Linked DNA regions of Homo sapiens: regions 1, 2, 4 and 5 are each linked to region 3. The links are contacts of gene promoters, found by promoter capture Hi-C in blood cells and fetal thymus (Javierre and others, 2016). All regions are on one chromosome and are shown on one strand. The core of a region is centred on a gene start or on the middle of the fragment in contact, and the rest is flanking DNA. Distances in the headings are between cores, read along the strand shown.

Region 1 (2,700 bases), core at 183-2,682, 370 kb before region 3:
CAAACCTGCTAACATATATAAGTCATTCAATGGGGTTGCCTCATATTGGGCTCTCAGAAATATTATTTTCTTTTTATGTTTATAAGTATCTATGATGTTACGATAGATATAATTTGTTTTTGTCCATCCGTGACTCCTAGTTTTCAACTAGGAAGATTCCTATAAGACTTCTCATGCCCCAAGTACTAAAGCAGTAAGAATATCTTTTGTTAAAGTATTTGATTATCCTTGGTTCCTGAAGTCACTCCTAAAAGATAAAGTTGAAAGACAGTCTTTTGTTATTTACAACAAGTGCTTTAAAATACTCCTAAGCTAGAGATATACCCAATGTAAATAAACAAGTTAACGGGTGCAGCACACCAACATGGCACATGTATACATATGTAACAAACCTGCATGTTGTGCACATGTACCCCAGAACTTAAAGTATAATAATAAAAAAAATTGTGAAAGAAAAAGAAAAAGTTGATGAATCTAGGTAAAGGCATATGAGAGTTCATTTTACAATTTTTGTAACTTTTCTAAAGGTTTAAACTTTTTTTAATAAAAAGTTTTTTAAAAAGAAAAAATAAATACATAAAATAAAATACTCCTAAGCTTATGTTAATAAGACAATTTTTAGAAAGCCCTAGAAACAACTGGTTGGAGGGCTGATTCCCAGGGGAATGATTCATTGTGCCCAGAGGGTTGGATTTTTTTGTCTCAACCCTCAACTTCCAGGAAGGGGAAGAGGGGCTGAAAATTCAGTTAATCACTAATGACCAATGGTTCAATTAGTCATGCCTATATAATAAAGCCTTCATAAAACCCAAAAGGACAGGTTTTGGAGGGTTTCCAGGTAATACATAGGCTTACAAGAAGATGAACAAGAACTCATTGATGTGCAGGAAGTTTAGCACATTCCATGAGGACAGAAGCTCCTGTGCTTGGGACCCTTCTGGACCTTGCCCTATATACCTCTTCACCTGGTTCTTTGTTTGTATTGCAAAAGAAACTAAACTTTTTATTGTGAAATGCAATCTCCCTTTTAAATTATCAGGCCCAGAGAGACATTGAAATTAGATTACAGTCATGTCCCACCCTCTCCTCCTTGAGCTAAGTAATCATTTCTAAGCCACCTGCTATAAGGACTCTAGACTCAATTAACATAATGATGCCATATGCTGGCAGCATAAGTCGAACCTTATAGCCAATCATGAATCAAGTTATCTCTGTAAACCAACACAAATTTCTGAAAAGAGAACTTTTGTAATCATCTCCCCTAATTCTACCTTTTTTCTTCAAAAACTTGAGCCTTTTCTTTGATCTCAGGAGCACTTCCCAGTGTTTGCTGGGCTTCAGTCCTCAACCTTAGTCAAAATAAACTCTCTACCTATATTAATTTTGTCTTGGTTTCTTTGTTTAGGTCAACAGTATCCTTTATTATTTCCTTTATAATACACTGATAAACATGTTTCCCTGAGATCTGTGAGGTGCTCCAGCAAATTAGTTAAGTCCAAGACTGGGGGCATGGGATCCCTGATTTATAGTGGGTCAGTCAGAAGTACAGGCAAAATAACCCAGGGCTTCTGATTGGCATTGGAAATGGGAAAAAGTCTTGTGAGACTGAGCCCTCAAACCATGGAATCTGATATTATCTCCAGTTTAGATGATGTCTCAACAGAATTGAAGGACAGCCAGCTGGTGTTCACTCCAGAAATGATTGCTTGCCTTTTTGGTGGGGAGAAATCCCCACACGTTTGGTCGCAGAAGTCTATATGTTGTGTCTCTGGTGTGAGAGCAGAGGAAAAACAGTTCGAGTTGTTCTTTCTACTTGGTACTATTTTGGAAGAAGTATGTAAAACAGCAATCTATCTTAAAAATAGTTTCCTGTGATTTCCTGCCGTGTCTGACCCTCAGACCCTGACTGAGCGACGGATGAATGGAGTATGCCAGACACAGGTTTCTTGCCTGGCTGCATGGCTAGGGGACTGGGCTGCTCAAAGACCCTGAGGAGGGTGCCATAAAGAGTCAGCAGCCGCAGCCTCGACAAGCTAGCTTTGGGGGCATTTATTCAGTACAGATTTAATCACAAAGGCCTTGAGTAATTAACACGGTTGGGCCCCCCTCCCCACCCCTGGGGAGAGCAGTCCTGCACGCAGATAATTAAAGGCCAGGTTCCAAGGCCTAAGTAAACTAACTTATCTATATCAATTCCATTGTGCTTCCTTGTTATCTACTCCGAGAGAATTCAGCTGCCTTCAGCTATATCCTTTCCCCAAGCTTTTGCAAAACCTCCTGGCCTTCCAAGAAGATTTGCTTCTTTCTATAATTTTTCCCGCCACCCTGACCGATCTCCTATAATTTCCAACTTAATTTTTCTTGAAATCTAAATTGTTGTCCCAATTAATTTGAATTAAGTTCACTGCCCAGATAATTTTCAAAATGTCACTGCCCAGTATACATACATGACAAAGCAGGTTATGGTGGTAACACAGGTTATGGGAGAAAAGAGGAAAAAGAGGAGGCCTGACTAGCAAAGTTGGTCTTGTTATGTAGATGAAACTTCACAGGTAGTAGCCCTCAGAGAAAACAGGTAGTAAATCTTTTTTTCAGACCTTTAAAGATATCAGCCTATCTATCAGTTAATCTTTTCTGGATTTGCACAAGGGCTGGCCTCAAATAAAACCTGGCTGCATTAATGTAGATTTTCTCTGCAGT
Region 2 (2,700 bases), core at 134-2,633, 310 kb before region 3:
GCCTTTCTCTCAACCCAATTTTTAACCCTTCTCTCAACCCAATTTTTAAATTTAAAATATAGAATATAAGCTTCATAGAGCTCAGCCTCCTCAAATGGCTGGTCAAAAGGCACAAAACAAAAAATGAAGGGTCTTGGAATCTGTTCTCCAAGGTTTGATGTTTTCTACCATGAGAAAATGCCTTTGCATTTCTGCTCCCCAGATCTATAAGAAGTCCCTGTCTTTTCTCCAATCATTATTAAGTCAGTGATAAATAACTCAGAATTTCCTCCTTCTCAGCATAAGCAAGGTTTTCTACATGATACAGTTGGCTCTTGAACAACATTGGGGTTTGGAATGCCCACCCTTTCATGGTGGTAAATCCACGTAAAACTTATGACTTCCCAAAAACTTAACTACTAATAGCCTACTGTTGACCAGAAGTCTTACTATTAATATAAACAGTCGATTATCACATATTTTGTATGTGACATATTATATACAATAAGCTAGAGAAACTAAAAACGTTAAGGAAATCATAAGAAAGAGAAAATGTATTTACTATTCATTAAGTGGAAGTAGATTATCATAAAGGTCTTCATCCTCATCCTCTTCACGTTGAATAGACTGAGGAAGAAGAGGGAGAGCAGGGGTTGTTCTTGCTGTCTCGGGATGGCAAACAGAGGTGGAAGAAATCCACATGTAAGGGAATCCTCACAGTTCAAACGCACGTTATTCACAGGTCAACTGTATTTATTTTCTTCCCTCTTAAATCAGTGTTTAAACTAAGGCTGACTTACCCCAAGAACTTGTAATTTTGCTTTCTGATAATCTGGTGATCCATCTATGGGCTGGTAGACAGAAGTATTCAGCTCTTCTGGTCCCGCCTCACTGCCTGGGGTACCATGGGCAGAGGCTGACCCCAGCTCTGCATTATCAACTTCGTGGGAGGCCATTGGGGTTGTTTATGGCTGTGATAGAAAAGAAATCCAAAGCCTTCATGCTTTCCCTTTTTCCACTAGCTACTAAAATTTTGAGTGTTACAGAAGGGTTCAATTCTGTCCATACATTACAATGACTCTCCACAAATGGGACACCAGGGCAGAGTAACAGAGTTTGTACAATATTCAATTCTGTCTTGCCTTGGAGTAGTAGACATCATCGGGTCATTGTAGTAGGCCTTGGTGCTTCACTTAACTTTGGAATGGTAAAGAGCAATTTCTTTCTCATTTTGCATGCACTGATATATAGTCCCTGCCTTTCTTCAAGTCAGTCAAGGGCAACCAGACATATGGTTTCTCTGAGCAGTGGTCTCTTTATAAGAATAATGGCTTTAGTCACATTCCAGTAATAATAGTAGGTGTCATTTATTTAGTACTTATTACTATATGCCAAGCACTGTCTGGATGCTGTGAATGTATTAATATACTTAATCCTGTTATAATATTATTATTATTCCCGTTTCACAGATGAAAAAAATTGAGGTATAGAGAGACCGAGAAACTTACCCAAACTCATATGGCTTATAAATCATTTCAGATTTTACTAAAAACATTCTACTCTAAGGTCCAATATTTTTCAAATCACCACATTATATAGTACTATATAGAAGACGTCTTTCTGAGTACCAACATAGCATGGTAGAGTTTAAGCACTATGGAAGATCCAAATTCAAATCCAGATTTCATCATTTACTAGTTGCATGACCTAGTAATGGGAACCTCAGTTTTCAGAGTTTAAGCACTATGGAAGATTCCAATTCAAATCCAGATTTCATCACTTACTAGTTGCATGACCTTGTAGTGGGAACCTCAGTTTTCACTTCTGTAAAAATGGGAATAATTTTAATTTTATATTAACATTGCGAGAGTTGACTTTGATAATGTACGGAATTCTCAACCTGTGAACAGGTGGTATCAGCTTTTAACTTATACTCTGCCTTCTAACAAAAAGGACTTCAAGTTTGTATATATATAAGGGTCACAAAACAACCACCTCAATCATTACAGCTGAAAAATATGTATCACTAAAGTACACACAGAATGCTTACATTGGACTTCTGAATGTTGGGCAAGATAACTTCCTAATTCATAGTACCCTCCTACACAAAATAGTTGTAAAATGCTTATATGCTTTTATAACTGATGAGGGAGATGGCATGAGATGAACCATAAACAAACACATAAAATGATGCTGTATTCTGCCATAACTATCGATTGGGTTAAGAATAAGATCTTAATATAAATCATTCTACCATAAAACACATGCACGTGAATGTTCATTGCAGCACTATTCACAATAGCAAAGACATAGAATCAACCTAAATGTCCATCATTTGTAGACTGGATGAAGAAAATGTGGTACATACACACTGTGGAATACTATGCAGCCATAAAAAGGAATGAGATCATGTCTTTTGCAGGAACATGGATGAAGTAGAAGCCATTATCCTTAGAAAGCTAATACAGGAACAGAAAACCAAATACCACATATTCTCACTTATAAGTGGGAGCTAAATGCTAAGAACAAATGGACACATAGAGGGGAACAAAACAACTGGAGATTATCAGAGAGAGGAGGGAGGAGATCGGGAAAAATAACTATTGAGTACTAGGCTTAGTACCTGGGTGACAATCTGCACAACACACCCCTGTGGCACGAATTTACCTATATAACGAACCTGTACATGTACCCGTAAACCTAAAATAAAAGCTTTTTATT
Region 3 (2,700 bases), core at 186-2,685:
CACCCTAAAAGTGTTCTTAAGCATCTTCTGTTGCATTTCGACCTTACAACTACCCATTTTACAAATGACAAAACTTAGGCTGGGATTTTAAGGGATCACCAGTAAGCAGTGGAGCCAGGAGACAACCCCAGTTCTAATCCAGTCCAGTGCTTCCCAAACTGTAATGTGCCCATGAATCACCTGGGGAAATGGATGAATAATTAGATTCTGATTCTGCGGGGCTAGACTCAGGCCTAAGCTGCTACACTTGTAACAAGCTCCAAAGTAGATGGACTAAACTCTTGAGTGTCAAGGGCTAGATTTTAATTCTATTAAGGTAGAACCTGTGCCACTGAATCTCCAAGGCTTAGCACTGGACCTCCCCATAGAATACACTCAATAATTATGTACTGAATGAGTCAATGAATATCTGGCTTAAAACCCTATGCGTTAACCCTTTTCTGTATCAAGTTCCATTGTATCAGCTGATCCTCCCAACAAATTCCTAGGGTATGATCATTCCCATTTGATAGATAAGGAAACAGAGACTCACAGTAAGTAACCTAAGGCTTTACAGCTTTTGCGCAGCCAAGGCTGGAGGTAGTCTACCTTCAGATCCTTTGACCTAACCACAGCTGTTCCAAAAGATACGGCGGGGGAGGGGGGGACAATGACACCCGGGGATAACAATTACAGACCACCGGTTGGAGAGGAGCTGACCCATCCCAGCATGTGACCGGCTCACAGCTCCAGAGGTCACCAGAGAGCTCTGAGCTGCTCCCTGGGGGAAGGGGCAGCCAGGCCTGTAGCACCTCAGGAGAGAAACAGGAAAGGGAGAAGGAGGCTGGTCCTGGGCATAGTGCCAGGCAGCAGTGGGCAGGTGGTGAAGGGACCCCTGACCTCCCGGGCCCAAGCACCCGCTTCGGGAACCAGCTCTGGACAGACACTGTCCAGCTTGCGGGGTGGGAGAGTTAGAGGCGTTCAGGAAAATCATTGCCTAGCGATGAATCACCGGGCACATGACCCCGCAGGGGAGGGGAGGGGAGGGTGCGGAACCGGCGCGGGAAGCGGTGGGGGCTTGGGGAGGGCAAGCCTCCGGCTCGGGCCCCCCTCCAGCCTCGACTTGGGGAGCAAAGGGAAGCCCCTCTCCCATGCAGCACCCCTCCTGGCAGCACCCCGCCTGCGGCGAAACTCACGGCCTTCAGCTGCTCCAGACGGTCCTTCATCCTGAAGCCCAGGCGCCCGGAGGCAGGTAGCGCGTCCCAGGTGAGCGCGTCCCAGGTGAGCGCTTCCCAGGTGAGCTGCCGGAAGCGGCGGCCGGGCCCGCCGGGGCGAAGGAGCTGGAGGCGCAGGCGGCGGCGGGCGGCGGCCGCTAGCTAGGAGGAGCGTCCGAGGCCACGGGAGCCTCCGCCGCGCAGCCCCCTCCGCCCCCACCGGCGCCTCGCGCTCCAAATCCGGCTCCCGGGCCGGCGCCGGCGCAGCGCTGATCCGCCCTGGACCCGCCCCTACCTGGCCGCGCCCCTCGCTCCTTCTTAAAGGGCCCGCGTCCCGCCACCGCCCGGCCGCCCGGGGCGTCTCCAAAGCCCCCTTCCCTAACCCGAGAGCCCTCCAGACACGCGTGGAGTCCGGGGAGAGGCCCCTGCACCGGCGGATCCTGCCGCAGGGCCGAGGAAGAGCAAGAGCGACTGTCTGGCTGCGGTCATTCGCTGTCTGTGCCGGGCTCCTCGCTAGGATCCAGTTCTTAGCCGACTCCTTGCTAGGCGGGGACAAGCTCCCGAAAACAAATAAGACAATGTGATGTGGGCTACATTGGGTGGCAGTCGAGTGTTCTAAAAATATCCCGCCAGGAGGAAGGCATTCCGAGTAGCGGGATCCCGCGCAGCCTCAGGGCTGCTGGCAGTGAAAGTGGGGGGATGGAGGAGGTGTCCAGAGGAAAGACCTGGAGATCTGGAGATACAGGACGGTCAGGGTGGTCAGAGAATTTGGATCTTTTGCTTGTTGGAAATCGGGACCGCTCCGAGAAACGTAAGCAGCTCGATGTTGTTAGTGCCAGTGGAGACACTTGGCACTCACAATTTGCAGACGTTTGGGAAAGCATCGTTTCTCAAGAGGACCCCGTTCCCGTGTCTGTAAATCAGAGATGGTACCCACTTCGTAGTTCGCTGTGAAGCCTGTGAGCGAGGAGGGGCTTTAAAATACAGAACTTTGCACTGGAGCGCTCCCCGTCCTCGCAGCCTGCTTGGTGTGCAGGTGGTTCCCAGGCGGCTTCTGCTTCCGAAAAGCAGATCGTCCCTTTATCTCGAGTCTTCTCCCCGCCTCTCCCTCTTCTCCCTACCCTATTTGTCTTCTTGGGAACAAATGGCACATTCATCAGAGTGGAGATCCATAAACGGGACTGGCGAGCCGAAGATTTAATTCTGAAGAATAGGATCTGCTCTGTGCTTTCAGGTTAAAAAGCTGTAAATATCTTTGTAATTCTAGCAGTACTTTGCCCTCTTCTGCCATCTGAACGCGTGCTCCCTGCTGACCTCATCGGCTCCCATAAAGATACGGTGCGTATGGCAGAGGTCGGGCTTTGAGCCGGCCCCGCGGGTCTCGGCCGTAGTTCTCTCTCGCGTCCGGCACACTTCCTTCTGCCCGCTGTGCTCGCTGGGCAGGTTGTCCCCGCCTTAGTACCAGGAGGGCTTCCGCGCCCCCTGGTGGTCATACTAGGAAAGGCGA
Region 4 (2,700 bases), core at 49-2,548, 390 kb before region 3:
TAGGGAGATCTGGGTCCATTACCATTTCTCCATGAATTCCCTATCCGTTGAAAAAATGTGCAGATACTGCATTTTTTTCTGACGTCTGAGAAGAGATCCTATTTTTTTTTTTTGCACATGAAAGTGTTTATTAATCAGGAACTTTTGAACTTTCTCCCTAGACCCTTATCCATTGGACTGTCTTCGGGCCTTTTTCTTTAACTTTTATTTTAAGTTCATGGGTACAAGTGCAGGTTTCTTATATAGATAAACTTGTGGCATTGGAACGTGCTGTACAGACTATTTCATCACCCAGGTATTAAGCCTAGTACCCATTAGTTATTTTTCCTGATCCTCTCCCTGCTCCCACCCTCCAACCTCTGAAAGCCCTCAGCAAAATGATCGTTGGGAATACTGGAAAGTTACCGAGACTATTTTTTAATACAGGCACTGTTGCGTTAAAATTCAAAGTAACGCTGGCTTTTTGTTGTTATTGTTTGCTTTGTTTTGTTTTGTGTTGGTGTTTTGTTTTATTTTTTTGAAATCCACTTCTTCTTCAAAAGCAGAACATATATTTTTGAATTGAGATTCAAACTCGTGTCATCATTTTGTTTAATGCAAAGTGGAGGGGACTCCAAAGGCCTGAGATGAAGCTTTAGGATACAAGTCTTGATACGACCATGAGGTGGAATCCCAGCCAACGGAATTCTGTTCTCTTTAACGGGGCCTTGTGATTGTACTGATGATGCTAAACTGCTTGCAACTTTCAATTACTTTTGCTCTCTGCACACTCACCTATACTGCAGATGGCAGTAAAATCAGTTGGGTGAGTAACAGTTGAGAGAATGAGGATGCAATTGATTATTTTATTTAGTAATCTTGCATATAATTTTTCAAATATTTGTTAAGAGGAAGAAAGGCACAGCTGTTGTTCGTGTATAGTTTTTGAGGACCACTCCTCAAACAGTATTTTGGTCATATTTGCCCTACATTTATAAACACCTAGGATACTCAGAAACTCTCAACGGTAACACCAAGTAATTCAATATTATTTGTTAATTGATTCATTAGTTGATTTAATATCTATTGAACACTTATTTGTTTGATACACTGTGCACATGGTAAGGATATGAAAGTAGGCCATTCACTTCAAAAAAACTCAAAGTAGGCTGGGCGCAGTAGCTCACACCTGTAATCCTAGCACTTTGGGAGGCGGAGGCAGGTAGATCACATGAGGCCAGGAGTTTGAGACCAGCTTGACCAACATGGAGAAACCCCATCTCTACTATAAATACAAAAATTAGTTGGGCGTGGCGGTGCACGTCTGTAATCGCAGCTGCTCAGGAGGCTGAGGCACAAGAGTCACTTGAACCTGGGAGGCGGAGTTTGCAGTGAGCTGAGATTATACCACTGCACTCCAACCTGGGTGACAGAAGGAAATTGTGTCTCAAAAAACAAAACAAAACAAAACACTCAAAGTATATAAAGTCAATTGCCCAATGAAGAAATAAATTGGCCCTGGCGTAGTGGTTCATGCCTGTAATCTTAGTACTTTGGGAAGCTGAGGTGAGAGGATTACTTGAGTCCAGGAGTTCAAGACAAAGCTGGGCAACAGAGTGAGACCCCATCTCTACAGAAAATAAAACATTGGCCGGATGTGTGGCACATGCCTGTAGTACTAGCTACTTGGGAGACTGAGGTGGTAGAACTGTTTGAGCCCAGGAGACTGAGATTACAGTAAGTGTTGATTGAACAGTGCACTTCACCTTGGGTGACAAAAAGAAAGAGATAAATTATACTACTGTGATACAGTACATTTAACATGCTGTGAACTAGGACTATATACAAAGTGATTTAAAGAAATTGTCATTTGATTTTCCTGTTCTGCAACAGCTCAGGAGTAGGTAGTCCGTACCCGGGAGTATAGCTTTGCTTTCTTCCTTGTGTGGCTTCTTTTAAGGTATGAAAGTTGTAACTAAAGCTTTTTCCTTTATGTCTGCATCATATGGACAGATCTTTGTCATATAACCACACACAGTTATGAGTGGTGACGAAATCTAGCTATTGACTGAGCAGTTGTATGTCTAGGTTAAAACCAGGAGCTCTATTCAAGGAAGCAAGATCAGAATAAAAATTGCTAGACAATCCACATTCTCTGGCCCTAACACAGTCTTTTCTCTGGCCACCCAAATGTTCAACTCTCTCCCCAAAAAGGAAATGCACTTATTTTCTCATCGAGGTAGAAAATCCAGAGTCTCAGACATTTGTTATACTTAGCACAATCTCAGGAAATTTTTAATGATTTAACATTATTTTTCCTACAATTCTGGAACCACTTTCTTGTTATTTGGGAAATCATGTTGTCTGTACTTTCCCACACTCACAGTCAAAATACCATGATCAATTAGGAGGATTAAAAAGAATAAAAACATCTAGTTGGACAAAGAAATAATTAGTAATCCTGGAGTTACCTATTCATAGACTTTATTTGATTCTCTTAGGCAGGAATTGAGATTTGCTCCCCAAGAAATACAGCAAGATCTGCTTATAATATGGTTTTCATCTCTGCTCATTCTGGCCTTTTACTTATTACCCTCTGGGTATTGGGAAGTTTGCCCCATTTTTCCATCCACTTCCTGATGGTGCAGGGGAACTGGAGATTGCATTACATGACAAATGGTTCCAGGTTTTTGCAATCTAGATCTTTGAGTCTGTCAAAAT
Region 5 (2,700 bases), core at 170-2,669, 470 kb before region 3:
TGTTGAGTTTGAATTTCGTTGTATATTTTGAATAACAATCCTTTGTCAGGTATGTTTTTTGCAAATACCTTCTGTCAGTCTGTGGTTTATCTTTTCTTCTGACAGTGTCTTCTGCAGAGCAGAATTTTTTAATTTTAATAAAATTAAGATGATTAATTCGGTATTTCATGGGTTGTGCCTTTGGTATTGTATTGACAAACTCATCACCAAAACCAAGGTCATCTAGATTTTGGCCTATGTCATCTGTTAAGAGTTTCAGAGTTTTGAGTTCAACATTTGGGTCTGTGATTTATTTTGAGTTAATTTTTGTGAAGGATACAAGGTATGTGTCTAAGTTCAATTTTTGCCTATGGAGGTCCAGTTTTTTAAGTAGTATTTTTTTTTTGGAAAGACTATTCTTCTAATTGTATTATCTTAGTTCTTTATCAAAGATCACTTGACTATACTTCTGTGTCTATTTCTAGGCTTTCTATTCTATTCCCTTGATCTATTTGTCTATTTCTTTGCCAATATCACACAGTCCTGATTACTATCACTTTATAGTTTGTCCTAAAGATGGGTAGTGTTACTCCTAAAACTCCTTCTTCTTCAAGATTGTTTTTGTTATTCTAAGTCTTTTGCCTTTCCCTATAAACTTTAGAGTCAGTTTATCAATATACACAAATAATTTGCTAATATATATATATATATTTTGAGATGGAGTCTGGCGCTGTCACCCAGGCTGGAGTGCAGTGGCCCAATCTCAGCTCACTGCAAGCTCTGCCTCCCGGGTTCACACCATTCTCCTGCCTCAGCCTCTGGAGTAGCTGGGACTACAGGCGCCTGCCACTATGCCTGGCTAACTTTTTGTATTTTTAGTAGAGATGGGGTTTCACCATGTTAGCCAGGATGGTCTCAATCTCCTGACCTCGTGATCCGCCCGCTTCGGCCTCCCAAAGTGCTGGGATTACAGGGGTGAGCCACCACGCCCGGCCATTTGCTAATATTTTGAGGGAGATTGCATTAAATCTACAGATTAAATTGGGAAGAACTGATGTCTTGACAATGTTGAGTCTTCCTATCCATGGACATGGAATATCTCTCCATTTATTTAGTTATTCGACTTATTTTTTTTTAAGTTTCTCTTATAGATTTTGTACATAGTTTGTTAGATTTATGCCTAACAAACACCAAATACCAATACCTAAATATTTAATTTTTAGGGTTGCTAATTTAAATAGTATTGCATTTTTAATTTCAAATTTCACTTATTTACTATAAGTACATAAGAAAGTAATTGACTCTTGTGTATTAAGCTTGTATCCTACAACCTTAATATAATCATTTGTTAATTCCAGGAGTTTTTGGTTGATTCTTTCAGATATTCTACACAGACAATCACGTCATCTGTGAATAAAAGCAGTTTTATTTTTTTCCTTACCAATTGTATACCTTTATTTCCTTTTCTTGTCTTACCATTTCAGCTATGACTTCCAGTAAATGGTAAAAGGAGTAGTGACAGGCTTATCCCTGCCTTGGTCCTGATCTTAGTGAGAAAGCTTTGAATTTCTCCATTAAGTATGAAGTTAGCTGTAGTTTTATTAATAAATATTCTTTATCAACCTAAACAAGTTATCCTCTATTAATAGTTTTTCAAAAGTTTTTATAATAAACAGGCATTGGATTTTGCTCAATATTTTTCCTGCATCTGTTGATATAATCATGTGATTTTTCTTCCTTTTAGCCTGTTGATGTCATTAGTTACATTCATTGATTTTTGAATGTCTAGTCAGCCTTGCATATCTGGGATAAATCCCATATGGTTATGGTATATAATTCTTTTGATACACTATTAGATTTAGTTTGCACATGTTTTGTTGGGAATTTTTGCATCTTTGTTCACCAGAGATGTTGGTCTGCAGTTTTCTTTTCTTGTAATGTTTTTGACTTTTTTTTTTGGTAGATAATAGTGCTAGCTCCATAGAATGAGTTAGGGAGTATTTCCTCTTTTTCTGTTTTCTGTAAAGAATTGGTATAATTTCATTTTCAAGTGTTTGGTAGAATTCCAAACCTTTCCAGGCCTGGTGCTTTCTGTTTTGAAAATTAATTAATTATTTATTTTATTTATTTAATAATTATAGGCTTATTCAGAGTGCCTATTTCTTCTTGTGTGAATTTTGACAAATTGTCTTTAAGGAGCAATTCATTGGCTCAAGGTTATCAAATTGTGGGCACAGAATTGTTCGTAGAGTTATTTTATTATCCTTTTAATTACTATGGGAACTGTAGTGATATTCCCCCTTTCACTTATGAGTAATCTGTGTCCTCTCTCTCTTTCTCTTAGACTGGCTAAAGGCTTATTGATTTTATTTATGTATTTTTCTTTTTTTTAAAAAAAAGCATTGGATTTCATTGAGTTTGTCTATTAATTTTCTGTTTTTAATTTTATGATTTCTGCTCTAATTTCTATTACTTTTTTTTCTTCCGCTTACTTGGAGTTTAATTTGCTTTTCTTTTTCCAGTTTCTTAAGGTAGACTCTCAGGTGATTGATTTTGATCATTATTTTCTAATATATTCATTCAATGTTATAAATTTTTTCTAAGCACTGCTTTCACTACATCCCATAAATTTTGATAAGTTGTTTTAATTTTTTGACCCATTTATAATGCCATGAGATAATTGTACTCCAGCTCCTATTTTAAGAACGCTGTTTACTCATG

The links. Contacts are between HindIII fragments. The CHiCAGO score rates a contact against its expected background, and 5 or more counts as called.
Region 1: a contact is called between a fragment that was not itself captured here and the fragment with the promoter of STX3 in region 3, in 3 of 17 cell types (M2 macrophages, M0 macrophages and M1 macrophages). The highest score is 7.8, in M2 macrophages.
Region 2: a fragment that was not itself captured here is called in contact with the fragment with the promoter of STX3 in region 3 in 1 of 17 cell types (neutrophils); the score reaches 5.2 in neutrophils.
Region 4: a fragment that was not itself captured here is called in contact with the fragment with the promoter of STX3 in region 3 in 1 of 17 cell types (M2 macrophages); the score reaches 5.1 in M2 macrophages.
Region 5: a contact is called between a fragment that was not itself captured here and the fragment with the promoter of STX3 in region 3, in 1 of 17 cell types (erythroblasts). The highest score is 5.7, in erythroblasts.

What each region holds. Positions count from the first base shown.
Region 1 is chr11:60,124,408-60,127,107 of GRCh38, reverse strand. No RefSeq gene overlaps it. Among named protein-coding and RNA genes, the nearest start is that of MS4A2, 37 kb to the right of the region's middle. The HindIII fragment of the contact is 1,665 bases long and covers 600-2,264 here.
Region 2 is chr11:60,059,396-60,062,095 of GRCh38, reverse strand. MS4A3 (membrane spanning 4-domains A3) reads right to left here. Exons shown (of 7, transcript NM_006138.5): 2 at 780-950. The coding sequence starts at 935. Among named protein-coding and RNA genes, the nearest start is that of MS4A3, 4.1 kb to the right of the region's middle. The HindIII fragment of the contact is 2,621 bases long and covers 73-2,693 here.
Region 3 is chr11:59,754,111-59,756,810 of GRCh38, reverse strand. It overlaps STX3 (syntaxin 3), which reads right to left and starts at 1,435. Exons shown (of 11, transcript NM_004177.5): 1 at 1,176-1,435. The coding sequence starts at 1,205. RefSeq lists a silencer at 1,235-1,494 and enhancers at 2,365-2,524, 2,461-2,700, 2,521-2,700, 2,505-2,700. The HindIII fragment of the contact is 11,536 bases long and covers 1-2,700 here.
Region 4 is chr11:60,145,190-60,147,889 of GRCh38, reverse strand. No RefSeq gene overlaps it. Among named protein-coding and RNA genes, the nearest start is that of LINC02705, 18 kb to the left of the region's middle. The HindIII fragment of the contact is 1,328 bases long and covers 635-1,962 here.
Region 5 is chr11:60,225,544-60,228,243 of GRCh38, reverse strand. All of the region lies in intron 3 of MS4A4E (membrane spanning 4-domains A4E), which reads left to right. Among named protein-coding and RNA genes, the nearest start is that of MS4A4E, 16 kb to the left of the region's middle. The HindIII fragment of the contact is 243 bases long and covers 1,298-1,540 here.